Linked DNA regions of Homo sapiens: region 2 is linked to region 1. The links are contacts of gene promoters, found by promoter capture Hi-C in blood cells and fetal thymus (Javierre and others, 2016). All regions are on one chromosome and are shown on one strand. Each heading gives the region's core, a stretch centred on a gene start or on the middle of the fragment in contact. The rest is flanking DNA. Distances are from core to core; before and after follow the strand shown.

What was found. Contacts are between HindIII fragments. The CHiCAGO score rates a contact against its expected background, and 5 or more counts as called.
Region 2: a contact is called between a fragment that was not itself captured here and the fragment with the promoter of NUS1 in region 1, in 1 of 17 cell types (total B cells). The highest score is 6.1, in total B cells.

What each region holds. Positions count from the first base shown.
Region 1 is chr6:117,673,760-117,679,847 of GRCh38, reverse strand. NUS1 (NUS1 dehydrodolichyl diphosphate synthase subunit) reads right to left here and starts at 4,379. Exons shown (of 5, transcript NM_138459.5): 1 at 3,763-4,379. The coding sequence starts at 4,177. It overlaps LOC101927919 (a long non-coding RNA gene), which reads left to right and starts at 4,564. Exons shown (of 3, transcript NR_110854.1): 1 at 4,564-4,751; 2 at 5,013-5,201; 3 at 5,766-6,088. The HindIII fragment of the contact is 6,476 bases long and covers 1,200-6,088 here.
Region 2 is chr6:122,475,530-122,482,182 of GRCh38, reverse strand. It overlaps a transcript of PKIB not described here. Among named protein-coding and RNA genes, the nearest start is that of SERINC1, 7.0 kb to the right of the region's middle. The HindIII fragment of the contact is 283 bases long and covers 1,109-1,391 here.

The DNA of each region.
Region 1 (6,088 bases), core at 3,130-5,629:
GCAGAACAGATGTGAGACTTCTCTGACCAAGAGAACATAGCAAAAATAACACTGCATGATTTCCTAGGTTAGGTCCTAAGACATCTTTCAGCTTCAGCCTTTGGCCAAGTCTCTGGAAACATTTGTTCTGGGGGAAGTTAGTTAACTGGTTACCCTGAAGTCAACCTCCAGACCATGTGAAGCCAGATGACCAACCTGCCCCATCTATTTCAGCCATCAAAAACCAGGCACCAGACATAAGGAGAAACCTTTGGGTCCCAGACTCTATCTGAATGAAAGCTATGAGTGACCCAAAGGAAAAACTGCCCAACTGAACTAAGTCAATATATAAATTGTTGTTTTAAAACACTATGCTTTGGGTAGATTTCTACAAAGCAGTAGGTAACCAGAATAGCTGTCCAAGCCTTCATCCTACCTCATTTCCCAACTGTTCATTACATAAATTCACTGCTCCCAACACTCTACTCAATGCTATTACTGAACCTAGTCTAATGAGAATGCTGCCATTAGGGAAATCCCCATTCACACACACAGAGAACACTGTTCACGCCAATCCCAATTCTATCTTTTTGACTAGGTCCAGCTCAGGTGTTGCTCCCTTCCTTACCAGACAAATATGGAGGTAACCCGGGAAATTTTCCATTTTTCGCTCCTTAAAGTATCTGCCATTCACTTAGCATTTCTATATTAGCTTGTGTTAATTTTTAATGGACATCCTTACTTGAGTGGAAACTCTTTAAGAGACACCATTTCTTGTACTTCTTGTATCCCAGTGGCATTTACGAGTATGTCAATAGGATTTTTCATAGTTAAATATCTATCTAGAAATAAGCTTAAATAGACATTTATTTAGAAACACTGAATATGGCCGGGCGCAGTGGCTCACACCTGTAATCCCAGCACTTTGGGAGGCTGAGGCAGGCAGATCACCTGAGGTCAGGAGTTTGAGACCAGCCTGGCCAATATGGCAAAACCCTGTCTCTACTGAAAATACAAAAATTAGCAGGGCGGGGTGGCGCGCATCACCTGTAGTCCCAGCTACTTGGGGAGGCTGAGACAGGAGAACTTGAATCTGGGAGACGGAGGTTGCAGTGAGCCTAGATTACACCACTGCACTCCAGCCTGGGTGACAGAGCGAGACTCCGTCTCAAAAAAAAAAAAAAAAAAAAACCACTGAAAAAGAAACACTAAATAAAGCTTACATGTCTATACTCCCTCTGAGTGATTCTTACATATCCACATGGCCTATATTTTCAAGTCTATATTCAAAGAGCCTCTCCTTGGCCTCCCTATTTAAAACTGTACCCCTTCCTACACCACTGACTTTCAACATTCCTATCTTCCCTTCTCTGCTTTACTTTTCCTCATTGCACTTACATTACCACATATTTACCCACGTATATTATTTGTCAGACTCCCACTGAAATCTAAGTTCCATGAGTACACTGCTGCATTCCCATGTCTGGAAGAGTATCTGGTACTTAACAGACCCCAACTGTCACCTGTAAATGAATGTATGAACGAATCAAAACCAAGAATGGACTAATTGAAGGTCTCTTATTTCAGGAATATTTCTTATTCTTTTAAAAAAAACAAACAAAAAAACTGATTTTACAGTTAAGATACAAAATCCTGTAAGCCCTTTCACTGAAAATGCTCCTTAAGGTGCCTTTCAGTTCTCAGCCAAAACTTGGCTTAGCTTACTTCTTCCTTTTAATTACTAATCATTTTTCTTTTAGCAACTATGACACAGGATACTTCTGAATCACATCAGCAATTTAAACACAGGACTTGCAGAAACAAGGAAATGTGGCAACATTATAGTCTGTACTAGTAGGCACGGTCATCAAGTCAAACAATTTAGCTATACATTTTCCTTCCCTACTGGAAGATAAAGATACTTGCTTTAAAAGAATCACCTGGCTGTACATCAATCCACCACGTTGCTTAATGCCTTTATGTCCACTTTTGCTTCACCTATTTTTTTCCCCAAGCAAAACTGGTTGCATTGGTTTAGGCATGGATTGTGTCATCTCCTAACAGTCTCATGATTTCTATTGGTCTGCTGAGTTCTTTAGCAAGTTCCATAAATGTCAGTCTCTGAATATATCAAACTTTACCCTATAGGGCAAATCATCATTTGGTGATGACAGGCTACTGCGTCATCATGTTCCTTGCGGGCTGCAGGAAAGATGATAGGGCAATCAGAGATCAGCCTGTAAGCGTTACTGTCTGGCCTATGCCTTCCCTTTCTGACAAAACCCTGCACTTAAATTTACCAATCTGACAAAGATGTATGCCTCTCTAGAGCACACAGGTAATTTATTGAACAGAGAATAAAACTTTTGTTTTCTTCCCTTCATACCAATACTCTTAAATCATTCTTCTCACATCTTTAAAGAAATTCCAATGCTTTCAAGATCTGATTGAAAATCAAACCTGACATCCCAAACCTGAGTATTCCTCAACTTATCTCCTACCTATTCTTCAAGGTCCTGCTTAAATCCCACCTCCACTGCATGAACTTCTCAAGTTCCTTCATTCACAATTTCTCTCCTCTCTTCTCACAATAGTAATTTTACTCTCAACACTTCTTGTTATTAACCATGTCAAATATGTGAGTGTGTGCCTACCTCCTAACAAGCCTGAGAGTCCATGGAATTAAATGCAAGATTCCAAGGAATATGCCTAGCACAGTGCTTTAGGTTTGTAGCTACCCAATAAGTACTGAATTTTTGTACTTACAAAAACTCCCTATGGTGAAATTCATTCCCTCAATCAAAACATATGAGAGGACAATTCTATCAAGTACTGTGTTGGGCACTGATGATGAAGGATCACAAACCATCCCAGCCTTCCAAGACAGAAAGGGACCATTTTCTTTTCTGCCTATCCAATCTCTCACATATTTTTCATAAACCCAGTTCAAATACCACCTGACCCCCACCGCTCCCATTTGCAGTACCTATCACACAGCCCATGCCTAAGTCCTCTATAGCCTCACTGCGACTTAAGAACAGCGCCTGGAAGCTCTCTTAAAGAAACAGTGTGGTGTAACCAAAGGCAAAGATTGTGAAAAAGCACAGAATGGCTAAAATTCCAATATCCTCATTCCGATCTTTGTGGCCCCATTACGATCTTGTGGCCTTGGGCAAATCAGTTAATGTTTTTAAACCTTGGCAAGGGTATACAAATACCATCTACATTACTGCAGTATTATAACGAATAAGAGATTTTTTATTTATTTTTATTTATTTATTTACTTATTTGAGACAGAGTTTCGCTCTTGTTGCCCAGGCTGGAGTGCAGTGGCGCGATCTCGGCTCACCACAACCTCCGCCTCCCGGGTTCCAGCGATTCTCCTGCCTCAGCCTCCCTAGTAGCTGGGATTACAGGCATATGCCACCACGCCCGACTAAACTTGTATTTTTAGTAGAAACGGGGTTTCTCCATGTTAGTCAGGCTGGTCTCGAACTCCCGACCTCAGGTGATCCGTCCGCCTCGGCCTCCCAAAGTGCTGGGATTACAGGCATGAGCCACCGCGCCCGGCCAAGGGATATTTTTAAAATGTTAAAAAGCTACTGAGTCAAATCCAGAGAATTAGTAGGTGTTCAATAAAGCTGATCTCCCTTCCTCGAAAGCGCTAGCGCTGTGATTTGCAGAGAGGCCGCGGCAACTCGTGCCATGGGCACCACCCGCCAGACCAGCGGTCTAGCGGTCCAAGACGCCTCGGCCACCCCCCACCACCGCACCGGGCCTCACCTTGGTGGTCGTAGACGCTAATGTAGGAGATGCCCACGGCCATACACCACACCACGAGGCTCGCGATGTCCGAGAAGCTGGGTTCCTGCTCCACCTCGGTGATCACCAGGCCCATATGCACAGGCAGCTTCTCCAAGGAACGACCGTCCGCGCGCCAGCGCATCCGGTGGTGTGCGGCTGCCAGGCACGACCCCCCGCGCGGGTGCCGGTGGTGACGGCGGTTCCTGCCGACTGCCGGGGGCTTGCGGAGCGTGAAGCCGAGCGGCGCTAGGACCGCGGCAGAGGCGGCGCGGCAGCAGCGCCGCCAGATCCAGTTCCAGGTGCCGAACCGAACGCGGAGCCAGGAGGTGAGCGTGCGGTGCAGACAGAGCAGCGCGTGCAGCACCCGCCACACCAGCTCGTACAGCCCCGTCATACTCTTGTGGCCCTCAGACACCCCCTCTCCCTCCCGCCCACTCCCGCAGCGCGACGGCTTTTTATCCGCCCCTGCGGCCGGCGCGGGCCATCGCTCCGCGTCCCCCCGCCCCCCGAGCCCGAACCCCTTTCCACTGCCAACACCTCACCTCGCCCCCGCCGCCATCTTCCTCCTCCCTTGGCAGCCCCGCCCCCAGTAGTACATGGACAGTTCCGATTGGCCAGCGTGGAATTCTGACGCGGCTTCTGGGTCCGAGAACGTGGCCCGTTCCGGCGCAGTGAGGGAAGGCGCACGCCTGCGAACTAGCCGGGCCGATACCGCGGGCGCCCCCTGGTCGCGTGGAGGGCGATGAGCGAACGACCCGGGACTTGTCTGAATGGGACCCCAGCAAGGCACACGTGGTCTTCAATGCGATGGGCGCTTCCAGGGGACCCGGCGTCCCTTGGGTCCAGGAAGTCTTATACTGTCTCCTCTCACGGCCCCGACAGAAACGGTTTCTGAGGAGTAGAAGTGTCCTAAGTGGATTGGAAATTACAAATGCCGGAAAGAACCTAGGGATGGAAAGCAGCCCTCAGTAAGTGTTGATGCTGGGAATCCACCAGGGTTTCCAAAAGTGTCCTCAAAGGCTGGAGTGATCCTGCTACTGTCCTTTATTCAGCCTCCCGGCTGAGGCTGGGAGCGAGGCTCTTTAGCCATGTTCCTGAAACACCCCTCTACCCATGTCATTCTCATCTAAGGTATCCTTTCCTGGCTGTACATTGCTTAATAGAGGCTCTACAGCTTGGCAGTCCAGTCACTTAATTCTTTTTTTTTTTTTTTTTTTTTATTCGGCAAGACTTTGACCAACCGCCGTGGGTTAGGTTTACAGTGGGGAAAAAAAATAGAAATTGTGCCTGACTTCAATGACCGCCACTATTTGAAGCAAACTGCCCATCCAAGCCTTATCATCCCCTTTAACACCCTAATGTTTCTGTCCATGTGGACTTCGACGTGGTCCTCTAGAATGGTTTTGTACTTCCCCGCGGTAAGTCTGTACTGTCTTTGCCCTTTTTGTTCAAGCTCTTCTCCTGAATTCCTGATTCCCGACTTGGTATTGCCGACATTCCAACCCATTTCTCAAGGTTTATCCTACATGCTACATCCTCTATCATCATATATATGTGTGTGTGCAACAATAATATTTATATTATTTGCATTTATATTTATATAAGTATATATATAAAGATTAGGGAGGTATTACAAAAATGCAACTGTACACATACACACGTATACACACATATTTACACACGTGTGTGTGTGTAAACAGTTGCGTTTTTGTAATACCTACCTATTCTTTGTTCGCTAAAGCCTCTTTTTCCCCCTGGGAAACATCTGTTCACGTCTTGGCTATGTGACTTAATTTTTCTAACATTGTCACTTTTTCAACTAGTCTCATTTTGGTTTCTAAGACTCATTTAACTTTACTTTAAAAGTTGAATCTCATGTCCATCTCCCTTTCGCAGTGCAATTTTCCTCCCTTTGGCAGTGCAGCCTGAAGAACTGAGGGCTGGGCACCAGGCACACCCTTCACACACTTCTTTCTCTCCAGGTCTCCTCTGCGGTAGCTCCTCTGATGATGGACAAAGAAGGAGAGGCGAAAGGCCATGATCAGGGAAGCCTACAGTCTTCTTCCTCACTGCCCATTGCTGTAGTTTATGCAGCTACATGATGCTTGTTAAGGAAGCTCCCTAGACACCAGTGTCCCATTGAGATTTGGCCACGTATTCTGCAGACCCCACCCCACCCCCCATGCCGACTATGTTGCCACATTTCTCTACCGTACTCATTTCTTTGCCCCAATGTCTATCCGTTCTGACAAGATTAAAGACATCAATCTCATGTTCCCGTGGCCTGCTCTCAGGTGTGCAGGCA
Region 2 (6,653 bases), core at 1-2,500, 4.8 Mb before region 1:
CAAGACCATCCTGGCTAACACGGTGAAACCCCGTCTCTACCAAAAATACAAAAAATTAGCCAGGCGAGGTGGCGGGCGCCTGTAGTCCCAGCTACTCGCGAGGCTGAGGCAGGAGAATGGCGTGAACCCCAGAGGGGCGGAGCCTGCAGTGAGCCGAGATCGCGCCACTGCATTCCAGCCTGGGCTACCGCGAGACTCCGCCTCAAAAAAAAAAAACAAAACTTACCTTTGCTGCTGTGTTCTGTGATGTCTCTTGATTTCAATATTGCGAGATTACAAAAACCCTGGGTGTTGATAACATAATTAGCATATTTTTGACACAGTTAACTACAGGTAAAATAGGAAGCCAAAGCAATATTTAAAAAAAATTTGAACTAATTTCTGACTTCAGAAAAGTTGCAAACACTGTACAAAATTTACTATATATCTTTCACCTCTATTCACCAAATATTAAAATTTTATCTTGTTTACTTTACACAATGTGTGTGTATGTACACACACAAACACACACACACATACATACTGTTTTGTAAACCGTTTGAGAATAAATTTCCAACATGATCCTTTTTACTCCCATATACTACAATGTACATTTTCAAAAATATAATACTTTTCTACATAACCACATTATAACAATCAAAAACAGAAAATCAGTTTTGATATGATACTGCTTTGTAATTCACAAGCCCCATTCAAATTTTGCTAATTGTCTCAATAATGTTCTTTACAGCAGTAACAGTAATTATTTATTAGTATTGTTATTTCTGCTCCAGTATCTAATCCATGATTACATGTGGCATTTAGTTGTCAAGTCTCTGGTTTCCTTTAATCTGGGCAGTTTCTTAGTCCTTTTCTTTCATGACCTAGACATTTTGAAAAGTACAGGCCATTTATGTTGCATAATGTCCCTTAATTTGGGTTTGTCTGATATTTCTTCATGATTTATTCCCGTTTATATGTTTTTGGCAAAAATGCCTCAGGAGTGATAGTGCTCACTCCTTAGTGCATTACATCAGAAGACACATGAAACCTATTTGTTCTATTACTGGTGATGTTAAAACTTTGATCTTTTGGATAAGGTGTCTGTCAGGTTTTCCACTGAAAAGCTTTCTTTTTAATTTTTTGTGGGCTTTTCTATACACTTATATAATCATGGGCTTGATTTGATGCAAGGAGCTTGACTAAGTGATGTCTTAAGATTTACTCAATTTAACTTCATTTTATGATATTTCTACATTAAGTTTTTTAAAAAGAACAAAAGATTATTTTTGTATCTCTGATTTTGTGGTATGTACAATATCACTTTATAATCAACACATATGCATGTCTATGATTAGTAATGATGTGGATTTTAGTTATCAGTGTGAAAATGAAAGCACACCTACTAAGCTTTAGAGAGTAACCTTTAAATTTAACAGAAAAGTATTTGTACAGTAAGAAACGGAGATGAACACCACAACCCACTAAAAATTGTTTGAAAAAAAATTCTTAGAAATATAAGGCAGGCATAGCCATCAAACAGATCAAAGGGAAGAGATAGAAATGGAGTAAATACTGTAGGCATATAAATAGAACATGACATTTTTCCAGGATCACTATTACTACATTTTCAAAAAATTTATTCCCTTTGGATTAAGTAAATAACTTGAATAGAAAAAGTACCTGAAGCATTATTTAAATAAATTGTAGTTGTTCTTTATCATTACTAACATTAAAATATTACATATGTATGCATCGATTACTCAAACATGCATAAAATCAGAATTGAAAATCAAAATAGTGCATTCGTTATTGGATATACTAAGTGTAGGTTAGCAATTTTATTAAAAAATTTGACTATAGGCCGGGCATGGTGGCTCAAGCCTGTAATCCCAGCACTTTGGGAGGCCGAGGCGGGTGTATCATGAGGTCAGGAGATCAAGACCATCCCAGCTAACACGGTGAAACCCCGTCTCTACTAAAAATACAAAAAACTAGCCGGGCGTGGTGGCGGGCGCCTGTAGTCCCAGCTACTCAGGAGGCTGAGGCAGGAGAATGACATGAACTTGTGAGGCGGAGCTTGCAGTGAGCCAAGATTGCACCACTGTACTCCAGCCTGGGTGACAGAGCGAGACTCCCTCTCAAGAAAAAAAAAAAAAAATTGACTATGGTTGCCACTACAAATCAAATAGAACTAACCTCACTTATTTCTACAAATATACTCATTGTTTTCTTTAATCTTTTTTTAACTTTCTATTATTTTTTCTATATACCTTTAAGCTCTGTTGGACCTTTTCACTGTTTATTCATGCCATGGGAAGCTCTTACAGTCAATACCGGCACTGGCATTGTAGACAGTGAAAAGCCAGAAACAGTATATGCTTTGAGAGAATGTGTCAAGTCTATCTATATACAAAAGAACTTAAAACTTTTGAGATTGCTACTAGAATATTCACGGCAATTTTGAGTGTCTCTGATGTTGGGTTTGGGGAGTGCCTGATATATAACTGCTCGCCAAAGGAAAATCTTTAAATAAAGCAGAGGGCAAAGAGAGATCACAGTCTAGTCAATGTGTCAACTTAATCTTAGCATTATATTAACAGCTAGGAAAGAGGGCAAAGAAAATAATGAGACTTCTGATGTCTAAGCACCCATGAGTAAATGCATTGTACTCTCATTTCTGTTTTGTGATATTTATCAAAACTATAGAACTGATCTGACTAAAAAGAAAATTTTGAGTTCTAATTGACAGAATTAAAACACATAGTCATAATACTACATGTTGTTTCCTAGGCCACTCAATTAGGATAAGGAACTTTTTTCCCCTTTGTTGATTCTTAGTGCCTCAAAACTCTATAAAGTATGAAGTACCTTTCTCAGGGCAGGATTAAGATATTAAGTTGCTTATTACTGCTTTAATGTGTCTGGGACAGAGCTTCTGAGAGTCTGCCTAGAGAAAGCAAGAAGCCCTGGAAAGGCTCTTAAAAATATTCTTGCAATTAGTCAAGATGGCCCAATAGGAACAGCTCTCTGCAGCATTCAGCAAGTTCAATGTAGAAGGTGGGTGATTTCTCCATTTCCAACTGAGGTACCCAGCTCATCTCATCGGGACTGATTAGACAGTGGGTGCAGCCACGAAGGGCAAGCAGAAGCAGGGTGGGGCATCACCTCACCCGGGAAGTGCAAGGGGTCGAGGAACTCCCTCTGGTAGCCAAGGGAAGCCGTGAGGGACTGTGCCATGAAGAATGGTGCATTCTAGCCCAGATACTATGCTTTTCCCACGGTCTTCACAACCCACTGACCAGGAGATTCCCTCCAGTGCCTACGCCACCAGGGCCCTGGGTTTCAAGCACAAAACTGGGTGGCTGTTTGGGCAGACACTGAGCTGGCTGCAGGAGTTTTTTTTGTTTTTTGTTTTCTTTCTCCAGATTTTAAGCATGTCTCTAAAACACTTTCTCCTATTGGCATTTAATCCATGGTTGTATTCATATAAATATCCAATGGGAAAAGTTCACTATTTTGGACTCCATTTGTATGTGAAAGCTACTTCTTAAAGGATATTTCCCCACCCCCCGCTGCCACATAATATGTTAAGTGACTCTAATTATGTTTTTTCTCTTACTAAAGACTACCATTTGGAATTGCTGAACAATGTGCAGTGTCCAGCCATGCCCGTATCAAAGCATACCATAGAACTGAACTATGGAGTACCCTCCCATGGCATCTAAACTGCTGGATGAGTATTGCTGGGAAGTGGAAATGTGCATAGCATTTGTATAAATGATGCTGGGAATGCTTTCTCCATGGCGGAGAAAATAGGTAGAGAGAATTCTGCTGTCAGCTCTACAACCACTGAGATGATTTTTAAAACTGGATGATTCCTAGAAAGACTGGATTCTGCCACAAAATACAAGTAAGTCAGGCCAGCTAAGGCAGAAAATTTCCTTCAGGAGATGTCGATTAAAAAAATGGCCTGTGGTTGGCTCATAAGCTTCATCTGACATTACATCTTTAAAAAGATAGGACTTTTCTGGAGGAAAGGGACAGACCCATAAGCAATAATGGAAACTAGTGGAAGCCAGCCTTCACTATAACAGGACTCTAGGTGGGAGCCTGCGAAAAATAATAGAACAAATGACACAGCCAGATGCTACCAAACAGCTAAGCCTAGGATTTCTGCAGGTGATGCAAAGCGGGTTACGGGATATGAAGACCTTAATACTAGAAAATATTAGGAAGCTTTATGGAGAAATTAAGACCTTACCAGTGACTTATCAGGTTGGTCCTGAAGGGGTGTCCATACTTTCTTGTCATCACTTTTGAAGTTAAAGCAAATCTTCAACAGGGTAAAAACTGTGAGGAAAAAGTACCCAAAGTTCTTAATCACTCAGTAGAAAGAGCTTTAGGTATGAATTTGCCAAAGTGTTTTACGCAATAATGGACAATACAGTCAGTGGAGTGAGGTGTAGAGAATTGGGTAAGAAGAAAAAATCACTGTCTGAAGTCGCTTGAGATCAGGCCACTTAAAATGTCAGGGCCTCTGGATATCATTCTATTCTTACAATTAATTCTGGAGGAAAGAAAGCAGCTAAGGCCATAGAAATTCAGGTGAATAAAAAAGAAATCAGGATAAATTGGCTAAAATAACATAATGGAATATATGGATTACTGGAAAATAAAGTCAAATCTGGCAAATTTCATATAGTATCATATAGTATAGTACTTTGATAGCCTAAATGATTATCAGAATATAACATTTATCCTTCTTACAAATCTCTCATATCTGATTTTTATATAAGAAATCAATTTAGGTTCAATACCTAAAGCAAATGCACAGGCTTAAAACCACTTTATCTGAAATATCTAAATAACTTATACAAAGAAAAATATGATTGCTTCCTTGTTTAGCTTGTATCACCTGGATAATTGCCTCGACTTTCTCCTTCAGCTTACAGACCTGCATTGTCCAATATAGGGACTACTGGACATTTGAAATATGCTGGTCCAAATGGAGATGTGCTCTTAATTATATAACACAACCAGATTCTGAAGACTTATATGAAAAATAATGTAAAACATTCTATTAAGAATTTTTATATTAATGTCATTGAAATATTTTGGATATAGAGTTCAATTAAATGCATCTTTAAAATTAATTTCATCCGTTTCTTTTAATACATCTACAAAAAATTTTAAATTACAAATGTGATTCACATTTCATTTCTATTGGAAGGTGCTGATTTAGACGTTGCCTTAATAACATGTTTAATAAGAATTCAAAAATCTGATGAGTGCCAAATCGAACTAGTTGATTCCTTTCTGTAGCACAAATAAATAACGTTTTGGGTGAATGAATGTGAAGAATTTCTTCAGTATATAATTTCATTATTTTATCAAGGTCAATACATCTGCCCTTGAAAAGTGAAATGTTTTAGAAATGTCATTTACACTTTTTCAAGAAGTCACTCCCTTCTCAATGATTATAAAATAGTACATTAAATATTAGACACATATTTGAATTTGCTATCCACTTTATTATTTACACAGTGAATATTTCCTTTTTTCCTGAATTTATGTATGTTCTGCCTGAAATAAACTTATTTTTGTAGACATCTATTTCACTGGTATAAACATATCTGCTTGTTATGGAATTATAGGCTTAGATTTCAGCAAAATAAGAAAATCTGTGTGGAAAGAATATTGTTCATTTGCTGTTTTAACATTAAGACCATAATTGAAGAGAGTTTTTGTACATTTGACACTGTATCTTAGTTTTGAATTATTTTCCAAAACTATCAATGTGTGTCTTAACAGATAAAAGCATGTCTTTAATCAGAATATGGTCTCTTCCAATTCTAAGTTTATACTGACCCCTATGGGTTACTGTGTCCTAATCTATTTTTGGCTTATCCTTTCAGAATATCTGTGAAATACTTAAACATGTTTACATTTAAGATATAACTAATTTAGGATAAAAGCCATAAAATACTTTTTATATTTTTGCTCTCCTTGGATTATATAACAAACTATGCACAAATTTTATTCATCCTTTAACTACTGTGGGGGGGCCAAGATGTTTCAGTCCTCATTATATTTAGTGTTGATGTACTAAGGACAAGAGAACTAAGCAGTATAATTTCTAATTTCCAGAAAAATATGACCTGATTATTTTCCTTAAAATCTGTTCCACTCTCACAATATTTCAGAGATATAGATCATTTATTAGGATAAAAAATAAAGTTTATACAGAGATTTGTGTAAAGGCAGGAAGGATTATGGGACCAAAGATGAGTCTAATTTTAGTCAACCTTGATGGAGACACACTGATTCTAGGTTACACTGGGAATTTTTAATGTGATATACATGATTCTAAACCATATCCTTATGGATTGATTATTTATTTTTACTTGTTTTTTTTGAGACAGAGTCTCACTCTGTCACCCAGGCTGGAGTGCAGTGGCGTGATCTCAGCTCACTGCAACCTCTGCCTCCCAGGTTCGAGCAATTCTCCTGCCTCGGCCTCTTGAGTAGCTGGGACTACAGACGCATGCCACCACACCGAGCTAATTTTTGTATTTTTAGTAGAGACAGGGTTTCACCATGTTGGCCAGGCTGCTCTCAAACTCCTGACCTCAGGTGATCCACCCACCTTAGGCTCCCAAAGTGCTGGGATT